Linked DNA regions of Homo sapiens: regions 1 and 2 are each linked to region 3. The links are contacts of gene promoters, found by promoter capture Hi-C in blood cells and fetal thymus (Javierre and others, 2016). All regions are on one chromosome and are shown on one strand. Each heading gives the region's core, a stretch centred on a gene start or on the middle of the fragment in contact. The rest is flanking DNA. Distances are from core to core; before and after follow the strand shown. Region 1 holds the start of CFAP107 (cilia and flagella associated protein 107). Region 2 holds the start of PRAMEF12 (PRAME family member 12). Region 3 holds the start of PDPN (podoplanin).

The links. Contacts are between HindIII fragments. The CHiCAGO score rates a contact against its expected background, and 5 or more counts as called.
Region 1: a contact is called between the fragment with the promoter of CFAP107 here and the fragment with the promoter of PDPN in region 3, in 2 of 17 cell types (erythroblasts and megakaryocytes). The highest score is 6.5, in erythroblasts.
Region 2: a contact is called between the fragment with the promoter of PRAMEF12 here and the fragment with the promoter of PDPN in region 3, in 4 of 17 cell types (endothelial precursors, M2 macrophages, M1 macrophages and 1 more). The highest score is 7.8, in endothelial precursors.

Annotation. Positions count from the first base shown.
Region 1 is chr1:12,744,590-12,748,030 of GRCh38, reverse strand. It overlaps CFAP107 (cilia and flagella associated protein 107), which reads right to left and starts at 1,831. Exons shown (of 4, transcript NM_152290.4): 1 at 1,490-1,831. The coding sequence starts at 1,600. The HindIII fragment of the contact is 5,629 bases long and covers 507-3,441 here.
Region 2 is chr1:12,772,086-12,775,697 of GRCh38, reverse strand. It overlaps PRAMEF12 (PRAME family member 12), which reads right to left and starts at 1,960. Exons shown (of 3, transcript NM_001080830.5): 1 at 544-1,960; 2 at 1-155. The coding sequence starts at 830. The HindIII fragment of the contact is 4,010 bases long and covers 1-3,612 here.
Region 3 is chr1:13,581,636-13,585,281 of GRCh38, reverse strand. PDPN (podoplanin) reads right to left here and starts at 1,450. Exons shown (of 6, transcript NM_006474.5): 1 at 1,182-1,450. The coding sequence starts at 1,248. RefSeq lists an enhancer at 1,009-1,547. The HindIII fragment of the contact is 6,524 bases long and covers 1-3,646 here.

The DNA of each region.
Region 1 (3,441 bases), core at 582-3,081, 840 kb after region 3:
GAATGTGTCTTTTTCTTGATTGGGCATTTGATTTGTCGCTATATATCTTTGACTGTTTTCCAGAGCTCCTATAACGTTTTTGTGCTTTTTTCTTTAATGTTTCCATGGGGAATGAGAACCTGGAGCTTCTTAGTCTGCTACCTTGTTGACATCACTCCAACTCCACTATTTTTATGCAATCTTCTCTAGGTGTGAGACCATCCCATAATATCCCTGAGTACTGCATCACCCATGGGCACCTGAAGGTATTTTCAACCAGTCCTTCTTGCTTTTGGAACTTCTCTTGCACACACCTGCTCACCAAACAAGGCCAAGTACATTTGTAGCTGATGATGACTGAAGGTTGTATCTGGCCAGAGAGGTGGTGATTACTAATGTTCTCCAGGAAAACAGCCTTTAACCTTCCCTTCTTTTCCCCATACCAAAGCTGAGTATTCTATTTCACCTTCTTTTCCTTGCCCACTTCCCAAGAAGACATGGGGAAGTCTAGATGTCTCTGAAAAGCTTTAAGTGGCTCAGTCTTGCCAAACACAAATGAAGATATTCAATTTCAAGTATGCCAACTTGAAACTTTGCCAACTCAGGCAAAGTATTTTCCAAAGACCTTTAAAACACAGTGGAAAACCAAGAGCCAAATTGTTCTGTTTGAAAGCAAAAATTGAGGCCAGGCACAGTGGCTCATGCCTGTAACCCCAGCACTTGGGGAAGCCAAGGTCGGCACATCACTTGAGCTCAGGAGTTCAAGACCAGCCTGGCCAACATGGTGAAGCCCCATCTCTACTAAAAATACAAAAAATTAGCTGGGCATGGTGGCATGCACTTGTAGTCCCAGCTACTTGGGAGGCTGAGGCAAGAGAATCGCTTGAGCCTGGGAGGTGAAGGTTGCAGTGAACCGAGATCATGCCACTGCACTCTAGCCTGGGCAACAGAGCGAGACTCTGTCTCAAAAAAAAAAAAAAGTAAAAATTGAAATGCATTAGTAGGGCAGGATTGTGGAAAGGTGCCAGAGAGCAGCAGCAAATCCCTGGACATCAGCACAGAGAGTGGCAAGCTGGCCTCAGGAGATACCATATTCTGGGAAGGGCCAGAATGAGGAGAGCAAATGTTCTTCAAATTAAGGTACAAAGGAATTAAGGACAGAAAACATCCAGATGCCTAGAAACACTTCACTGAGAAGAGTGCTGAGAGGCACGACTATATTGACACCCTGTTACAGTATTTTCAATGCCCCTGTTATATCTGTAAGAGAGTGTCAGTGGTCTTTTCGATAACCATCATGTATGAAACAGTCATAGAAACCATGCAAAATGCGTGAATATTGATGATTGCTTGAATGTAACTATCCTTTGTAGAGCACAGAGACCCCAATGCCACATTTTTAAGATGCAATCATCTGCTGCCCTCCATTTGAAAATAGTGATGAACTTCACTCCTGCCTCTCCCCATCAGTCCCTCTGAGCCCTCTCTCCAACCTCTCTCGTTTCCTTACCTTTCTCCTCTCTTCCATCCAATTTCCAGTGAGCACTTTCGTTGAATACTTGGTCTCAATCTGCCAGCTCGGAGTAGAGAGTGGCTGTGGATTTACTGCAGTCAAAAACATGTTAAGGATTTGCCCCAGGTTTCTTTGACTTGATGCAGTTTAAGGCTTCAGGCGGGGAGAGGAAGGTGTTATGAAGTTGCTGAGTTTGGGGTGCCTATTTTGTCTTCCCAGCTGGCCTCCTGAATGGCTAGTAGATGACTCCTTGCTAACCTCAGAGAATAAAACGGCCCCAAGAGTTCACTGTCAGCCTTTAGGGAGAGTTGATCTATCTTGGATTCTCTACTGTTGACTGTCTCCATGGTGACAGACTCTGAGTATAAATACTCTCTGTAAGAGAACAGCTGATTCTGCAGAAGCAAAATTGACCTCACAGAAACAAATCAAACCAACCACCACACCACAAAAGCAGTCGCCAGAAGAACCTGGTTTCTGTGTTCTCACCACAATACTAGTATCATCCTTGCTACACTTTCACATTTGGGGTGAGTTAAAGTCTGCTACTATTTAATGAATGTTGATGTGCTTGCTCCAAGCAAAGACATTTATGCACATTTATTCACCTGTTTAATCCTCACAGCAGCCCTCTGACGCAGATGCCATTATTATACCCATTTTACAGATGAGGACACTGAAGCAAAGAGATTAAGTAGCTGCCTAACATCATGCAGTTGTGATGGGATTTAAATCCACGCTGGTTCAGACCTAAACCAGTGGGCTCCATTCATTTCCTATCTGCTACTTTGTAGGGGCTTGCACAAAGAATTCTGTCTTTGTGCTCACACTGGTATAATATGCTTCATTTGCTCAGTCTTCATTCATTCATTCCACAATCATTTCCCATTCTATGCCAGGTGCTTAGCTACAGCTGCAATGCATTAGCAATTAGACCTGGGCACCATCCCCACAGAGCTCAGTCCAATGAGATAAGGGCCTTTGTCTTGCTCATTCATTAGGAAAAAAAAAAAGTCAAAAAGCACCAAGATATCCATCAGCAGAGGGCTTGTTCAATAAACTGTAATACATCCAGATGATGAAATCCTCTGCAAGAGTTTTAAAGGCTGACTTTAAAAGATGCCTATAACATGTGGTTAACTAAACAAAACTCTGTGTGCTATAGTATTGCTTGCTAAAAGTGAAGAGGCTGGATTTCGCTAGGCAATTCAGAGAAAGTTTCCAATGGCCTTCAAACAAAAATAGAGGAACTCCAGGAAACTATGTGTTCCATCTTGAAACTAAGCCTGAGGCAGGAAATGACCATGAAAGATGTTCTGCAGGTTAGAATAAACCTTTATTTAGCAGAGACCACAGTTGGGGCAGGGCTGGAGCTAGGAAGAGGAGGTGTCCTTCCAATTAACATGCAGAGGAGGCATGCGTTCGGTATAATTTAATTTTTTTTTTTTTTTGAGACAGAGTCTCGCTCCGTCGCCCAGGCTGGAGTGCAGTGGGATGATCTCGGCTCACTGCAAGCTCTGCCTCCCAGGTTCACGCCATTCTCCTGCCTCATCCTCCCAAGTAGCTGGGACTACAGGCGCCTGCCACCACGCCCAGCTAATTTTTTGTATTTTTAGTAGAGACGAGGTTTCACCGTGTTAGCCAGGATGGTCTCAATCTCCTGACCTCGTGATCCGCCCGCCTCGGCCTCCCAAAGTTCTGGGATTACAGGCATGAGCCACCACACCTAGCGCGGTATAATTCAATTTTCAAAACCTTTTATTGTCGCATAAAACACAAATATCAAAAAGTACGTTAAAAATAAATGTACAGATAAATGAATTATGGAATAGCAAAACCCCACAAAAAACACTGAGCTGGTCAAGAAATAAAATATCGCCAGCACGCCCAAAGTACTCCACATGTCCCTCCCACTCACAACCCATTCCTCCCCTAAAGGAAACCACTCT
Region 2 (3,612 bases), core at 711-3,210, 810 kb after region 3:
TCACCATCAAGGGCTGCTGCCCACCCGGCCTTGGACAGTTCCCTGCTGTTCGTCTCTTACTCAGGGCCTCTGGGGAGAGTGCAGAAGCTCCAGACCATATGCCCCAGAAGTTCTCATCCACATTCCGCAAGTCCAACACTTGAAGTTTCCACCGCCTGTGGGTAAAAGAGAAGAGAGGCTCCAAATTTAGGAAGGATTTGAGCTTTTATCCACATCCCGGACATCAGCGACTCTCCTCCCTGCTGCTTCTCCCACTCTCTGTCTTTTCTCCATCCCTCTTTCTCCTTGAAACCTGCCTGGTCCCCACTGCTAGTGTCTTCAATTGCCACTGGCAGGAGGCAGGTTCCTGATCCTTCAGTGGACCCTGCATGGTGAGCAGTCCTTTCCCAGAGGAGCTGGACAATGGCCAAGGCCTCTCTGAGCTTCCTCCCCAGCCCCATCAGAAGTCTCTGGGCCACCCTTGGGCCTCCCACTCCTTCTGACCCAGCTAACCCTACCCTGGATGCCTGAGCCCTCCCCACCTGGTTAGCTGGGTCACCTCACCTGGGGCGAACCTTCTGGGCAAGCAGTGCATCAAGCCCCTCCAGCACAGCTCGAAAGATCTCTAGATTACATGACTTCATCAGGGACCCTAGAGGAAGGCAGGTGAAGGGCCAGGCCTGCACCATAGTTGTCAGGGTCTCGCAGCATCTCCTGGTAAAGGCCTCCATGAACAGTGGGGGAAAGAGCTCCCTGGGCAGCTCCTCCAGGGTGGGGATGGCCAAGGCCCGGTCTCTCAGCAGACTCTGCTCAGCCAGCTCCAGGAGTCTAGGTGGGGCCTGGAGGCTCATCCTGATGAATCTAGAGAAAAAAACATCATTCTTACGGCAAATCACATCACTTCATCATCTCCTAGTGCCAATGTCATTGCTCTGGTAGAGGTGGAAAGGTAATTAGTTCACCCCAATTCCACTCTGCACTTTCTGGACACAAATCTGTAATTCTGCCCTTGCTGGTACCATAAAGAATGTCTTCCAAACAATGAGGAGAGGGCAAGGTAACCACTGGCCCATTCATTTTCAACCATTGCTGCACTAAATCTCAGTAACACTGGGAAGCGTTGCTGAGGATCCTGAAAGCTAAGCTCCACCTTTTTGAGAAAATATTTCTTGTCACTTACCACCCTAAAACAATGGGAACGAGAATGTCCTGTGGCCCCACACAGCCTACATTCTCAGTTCCCACAATTGACATGCTTGCAGAAGACTAAAGGGACTCCTTGGAATCAGCGCCATTATTTTTTATTTTGAAAAATTGTAACAAGAAATTGTAAAAACAGCATGACAGTGTTCTAGAGCCTGTGAAAGTTAGGGATAAAAACACTAACTCTCAGATGAAGGTTCCAATGTTGATCTCTTACACAGACTCACAATGACCCACTTTGGGATGGAATCTAGGGGAAAAAAATGGGTCCCATGTTCAGAACAAAGACTCCACTCTTGAGAATGGCCTATGGAATATCTTTAAGGTATTAGTAAAAACTAAGGCCTAACATGTAAAATCACGATGCCACCAAGTCTATGAACTATAATTTAAGGGCACAAAAACCAATTATTTCAAATGTCACGAAATAAAAATTCAACCAGTTGTAACTTTTTAATATCTCTTGTTAAAAAAAAAACTGCTTCAATAAGAATTTTGAAATGACAAAAACCAAGCACAAATCCAATTTTGGGGGATGAAGACAAAACTACATTTAGAGGAAAAATCAAAGCCTAAATTTGTTCTTCTGAAAACAGACAAGAAAATTCTCTCTGCCACCTTGGGCTGCATGTCACCATCCCTGACTGGCTGGCTGGCTGCAGATCAGATGGGCATGACCCTAAGGAGGTGGTGACTTACCAGATCTGGACTCAGTTTGCAGGGTGCTGCAACCTCTCAGAGAACCGAGCAGTAGCTCCAGGTGTCAGCGCCTTGGATTCTCTCCTGTGCACCTTCGGGAGCTTTTATGGACCTTTCTAACCACACCCTCCCCATCTCAACAACCAACTTCCAATCAGAAAATGATGTCTGATTAGATTCTGAAGTTCCACCCAGTTAATCCTGATTGAGTTTGCGACTTTCTTCTGATTAATTGATTGGATCAGATATACGTTTATGAAAGTGAAAGATATAAATAATAGGGTGAAAGTCCACAACTCATTCATTCCTTTATTCCACAAACACTGATGGAGTTTGACTGACATGAGAGCTTCATAGTGATGCAGGAAAGGGTTGAATCTGTTTCTGGCATTTGACAGAAAAAACAAAACCTGAAGGTATCTTTGCTGGGGGATCTTTGGCCACATAAACATTATCAAAATGTCTCAGAGCTAAAACAGCTCTAAGAAGACAGTAATTTCATCCCTAAGAAAGCAGAATAAATATCTCTGCGTATCCAGTGGTCAGCTGGGATTTACGCTTTCTAACATGGTAGATCATATGCCCATTCAGGTGGCAGAGGGGAACCACTGAGGGTGTGATTGATCTCAAGACGAAGGTTCAGGCTTCTCCGGAGGAAATTAAACCAAAATTACAAAGTGAGGTGGGGGCTGGGCAGGATGGGACCGGGTGTTCTAATGGGACCCTGGGAAGGAACCAAGACAGCATAAAACATGGTGGGTATTTTGTGGGAGAGGAGACGGAAGGATTGAAAGACTCCATTTAGATTGAATTCAAAAACTGAAAAGGAAATAATTACAAAAGAGACACTGTAGACTCAAAACACAATATTGCCTTTGAGGGCATGGGACGAGATACAGTCTTGGTCACCTCTAGAAGGTAAAGCGTGTTTACTCACAAAAATGATGGGCACCCCTCAGAAAACCAGCTTCGGGAGATTGAATCTGAGAATGTGAGCTGGGACAGAGGCCAGACAGAAGCACAGTGGCCAGGCCTAAGAAGGGAGACTCCCCCAAGCTGGAAGCCACAGAGGGTGGAAGCTGTGGGCTCTGCAGGACATGGGGGAGAAATGCACAAGGGTCCGTGTCTCCCTGTCATGGCGCTATGGTCTGGAAATCTTTCCTTTAGACTCAGGGATCTTCCCACAGTGGAACATTTCCCAGCAACCCTCAGGTCCAGGCATTTCCCAGGGCCCTTCATCCTCATCAATCCCATCGGCCCCTTTCCAGGTATATTTTGATCATTAATGTTTTCTCATCCTTAAAGTCCTCTCTTGTCCCTAATATTGAACATAGAGATTCTGATCAGAACAACAACATTAGGCATATGAAGAAAACTCAGGCCAGGCACGGTGGTCACTGGAGTCCAGGAGTTTGAGACCTGCCTGGGTAACATGGTGAAACACTGTCTCTGTAAAAAAAAAAAAATCTACCTAGACATGGTCATGTGCACCTGTATTCCCAGTGACCCCATAAGCAGAGATGGGAGGATTCCCTGAGCCCAGGAGGTCAGTACTGCAGTGAGCCATGATCGTGCTGCTGCACTCCAGCCTTGAGACCTTGTCTCAACAGAGGGAAACCCAACAGAGTGAGACCTTGTCCCAAAAAAAAAAAAAAGAGAAACAAAGAAAATAAGAGAACTCAGTTTTTCTCTCTTTAAGCACAGTGCACACATCCTAGTACATTTCCCCAC
Region 3 (3,646 bases), core at 201-2,700:
GTGGACCATTGTAGGAGGCCAGGTTAGGCGCACCCCTCCTGCAAACCGCTCCCTCTCCAAGAAGTATTCCTCAGGGCCTAGGCCTACCTTGATCCTCAATTTTTGGAAAATGTTTACTTTTCACAGCATAACTCAGCAACCTCCAGCCCCAAAGATCACGAGTTAGGTTACAATTCCTTCAACCAACATTTAGTGAGCAACTACTATGTGCCAGGCATTGTTTTGGCCGTGGGGAATCATGGCTGGATGTAGCTGCGTCCTGCAGAACATATGTTCTATTGAGGAAATATAAAAATAAAAACCCAAGAAAAGAAAACAAAATGTTGACAGATGTCAATGGAGACCACCAACACAGCAACCCAGCGGGAAGAGGTAAGGCTCCAGGAGAGGACAAAGGGTAATGGAAGCTGTGGACGCCCCCACCCCAACATGGGATACAAAATATTTAAAGCCTAAGGAGTCACCAACAGACATTCAGCCACTGATGTTGTTGCCCAAGATGAACACGTGGCTCAAACCCACTTAAACCTCAATGTTCGTAACGCGTAACAATCCTCATGCACTCACACTCCTCGGAAGCCTCCACTTGGATCCTTTCCACACACACTATCCTCTCTAAAGAGGATAAAGGAGGCCTCTTCCAGTCCAGTGACGGGGTGCTGAGTGTGTCCAACAGGCAGGGCGCCAGACTAGGTAGTCCCAAGGGGGACCAGGGCCACCGCAGGGCGGGGAACCCTCCCCTTGGCCCAAGCCCTCCTGAACGTCCCTCCTGATTCTACGAGGCCAGCTTCTCCCGAGGCGTGCGTATTCCTCCAACACACCGCTCTATGGGAAGGAAACCCCAGCCACTGCTGCCAGCAAGCGGGGCTGCCTACTGTGAACCTTCCACCCGATCTCTCTGGTGCTGCCGACTCGGAGGGAGGCCCCCTGTGCTGCCCACCTCGCAGCCTGTGGATTCCGGGGCTCCTCCCGGCACACCCGCGCAGCTGCGTCTTTGGGACCTGGCACCGACTAAGCCGCTGCCTCTCCTCCTCCGGCGCTCAGCCGCCTGACACGCACACACCCTCAGCTCCCCCGCGCTCCCCTGGACAACCTCGAATACCAGGCCCGGGCATTCCAGCAAGTCTCTGCTCGCTCGTCCCCATCAGCGACGGCAGGAAGCCACTTGCGCTGGGTCTTACCTCCTTCTGCCAGGACCCAGAGCGACGCGCTTCCCAAAACGAAGAGCAGAGCTGACACCTTCCACATCGTTCCCGTTGAGTTGTTGCTCTCCTGGGGGCCGAGCAGCAAGATTCTGAGCTGGGGGAAAATTAAAAAGCACCGCGGCCACAGGCCCAGCCTGGAGGAGCGCGACGGTGGGGGGGCCGGAGGGGTGGGAGCAGGAGCCCCGGAGAGGGAGGGTGCCCGAGCTTCCCAGACCCTAGGCAGCCGGACAGCAAACTTTGCAGTTGAGAACTTTCCGAGCGGAGTCAGCATTTATCTCTCCCGAGGAGGCGGGGGAGCGGGGTCGGCCGCAAGGTGGTCTCCGTCCGGGCGCGCTAGGCCCGCCCTCGGGCTCTGTTTGGCCGGCGCCAAAACGATGATCTCAGGCCAGGTTTAAAGTTACAGGGCCGCAGCTGCGGGGGCCGCCAGGACTGCGGGCCCTGGCAAAATGGGCTTTTATTCTGCTCAACAACAGGAGGGAAAGGGACCACATGCAACAAACGGGGTTTTAAAAATTATATATAAATTTTAAAAAACCTATATTTATTATTATTATTTTTTTAAGAGTAAGGCACAAGTCTATGTTTTTCTTGTTATGGGCAGAAGTGAGAAGTAAACTGTTTCTTGAGTGGCCAGTAGTTTTAGAACCAAGCATGGGGTTTTTCCTGTAAATATTGAATTTGATGGCTTAAAAACAAAAAAAGTTGGCCGTCATCTGGGTGGGCCAGAGGCGGCCCGCGCTGGTCAATTGCGCCCTTGTCCCGGGGACCGGAGCGGGCGGGCTCCGGGGGGCTGCCCCAGAGCTGGCTGGTGGGGGAGTTTGGCAGACCGGGTGGCTTTGGCAGTTTTGAAAAAGAGGCTGAACTCCATCCGCCTCTGCCGACCCGGGGATCCAGCGCTGCGATGCTGTGGCCCACCGACGTGCGCAGTTGGATTAGGCCGGGCCAAGCGGTGACCCGTCTGGTCGCCAAACCTGTGTCCCCTTCCAGGCCTGGTTCACCCTCTTTATTCCTGAGTTTGCTCCCATAATCCTCACTTTACTGGTTTAAGCGATCTTGCCTTGATCTCAGGTACCAGATATCAGCAACCAGAGAACTTACGTCTTTTACTTTAATTCCTTCTGAATTGCTGGAATTTAAAAAAATAAGAACAGGAGTTTGGGAAGTGGTCTCTGCTCCACTCCCAGATGCCACAAATTCCATTCAACAAAAGAACCTGAAGACTAACGCTGTCTCAAAGCTCCACATTGCGTGAAAATTGTTTTCAGATGCTTATCTTTGACCCCTCCCCATTATAAATTTACTTTCTAAGAATCACAGGAGAGATTGTTTTAAATAAATGCCCAGTTTCCTGGGTTCCACCCCAAACTCATTAATCAGACCTTTTCGGAATTCCTATTTTAAACCAGTGTCGCTGGAGAACTTGTCCCCATGAACATTTGGCAAACCTTGCCCTTCATCATAGCTTCTCAGCCAGATCTACCTGGGGCACTGGTTATGCAGGTGCAATTCTGTTGTGGGATAGGGAGAGATTCTGCATTTCTAAAGATCTCCCAGGTAACGTCTTGTCCTGGGGCTACAAACAGGAGCTGAGCACCTGAACCTAGAAGATGAGGGGTAGCGGCAACACCCCTAGAGCCAAGGAGTTGGAAATGTAAAGAGAAAACTCGTGATACAGATACTCTTTCTTGAACTGACTTCCCCATCTTGGAGATGCATTTTATGACTCTAGTGTCAATAATGTCTGTTGACAGGAGGAATAGTGCATTGTCTGTTGAGCCTGTTAGATGGAGAATAGATGCACATCTATTCTGCTTATGTGTAACTCCAAGGTCACACACAGAAAGAAAGATGGCCCGCTTTATTCAAAAAGATTGAAACACAGTGAAGCCTAGGTGGGGGAGATTGGGTTACATGCAACTAATTTAGAGGGATGCTGAGGCTAGGTCATGATTCAAGGACACCTGCCTTCTATCCCACACCCCCGGATGTGTCTAGAATCTAGAAGGTTGGTCACATGACCTTTTGATCAGGATGGAGGAGTGGGAGGTAATAAGGAATTGCATTCAGCTGGGGGTCCTGGGGTGGGGAGAGGGGCCAGGATGAAGGAGTTAGTGGATCGGCTCTGGGTGCTGTTGGTCTGAAAACCTAGAGAGAAAAGCTGGGTCTTGGGAGGGGGAACCTGAAGACCAGAGGGAAGAAAGAACTCACCCTCCTGGACCAGATAGAGCCAGCAGCTCATGAGAGAAGGAATATGGGCCTTGGGCAGCGAGACTCGGTTAGCTAAAGGAGCTGAAGTGAAACACAGGGGATCTGGAAGCATGAGACCCTGCTCAGCTGAGGGGAAGAGGGAAAGAAGGAGGGTATGTGGCTCCATTCTTGGCAAACAGCTTAAGCTCAGAAAGCCATGGCCATGAATGATGATGCGTTACTGGTGAGATAAC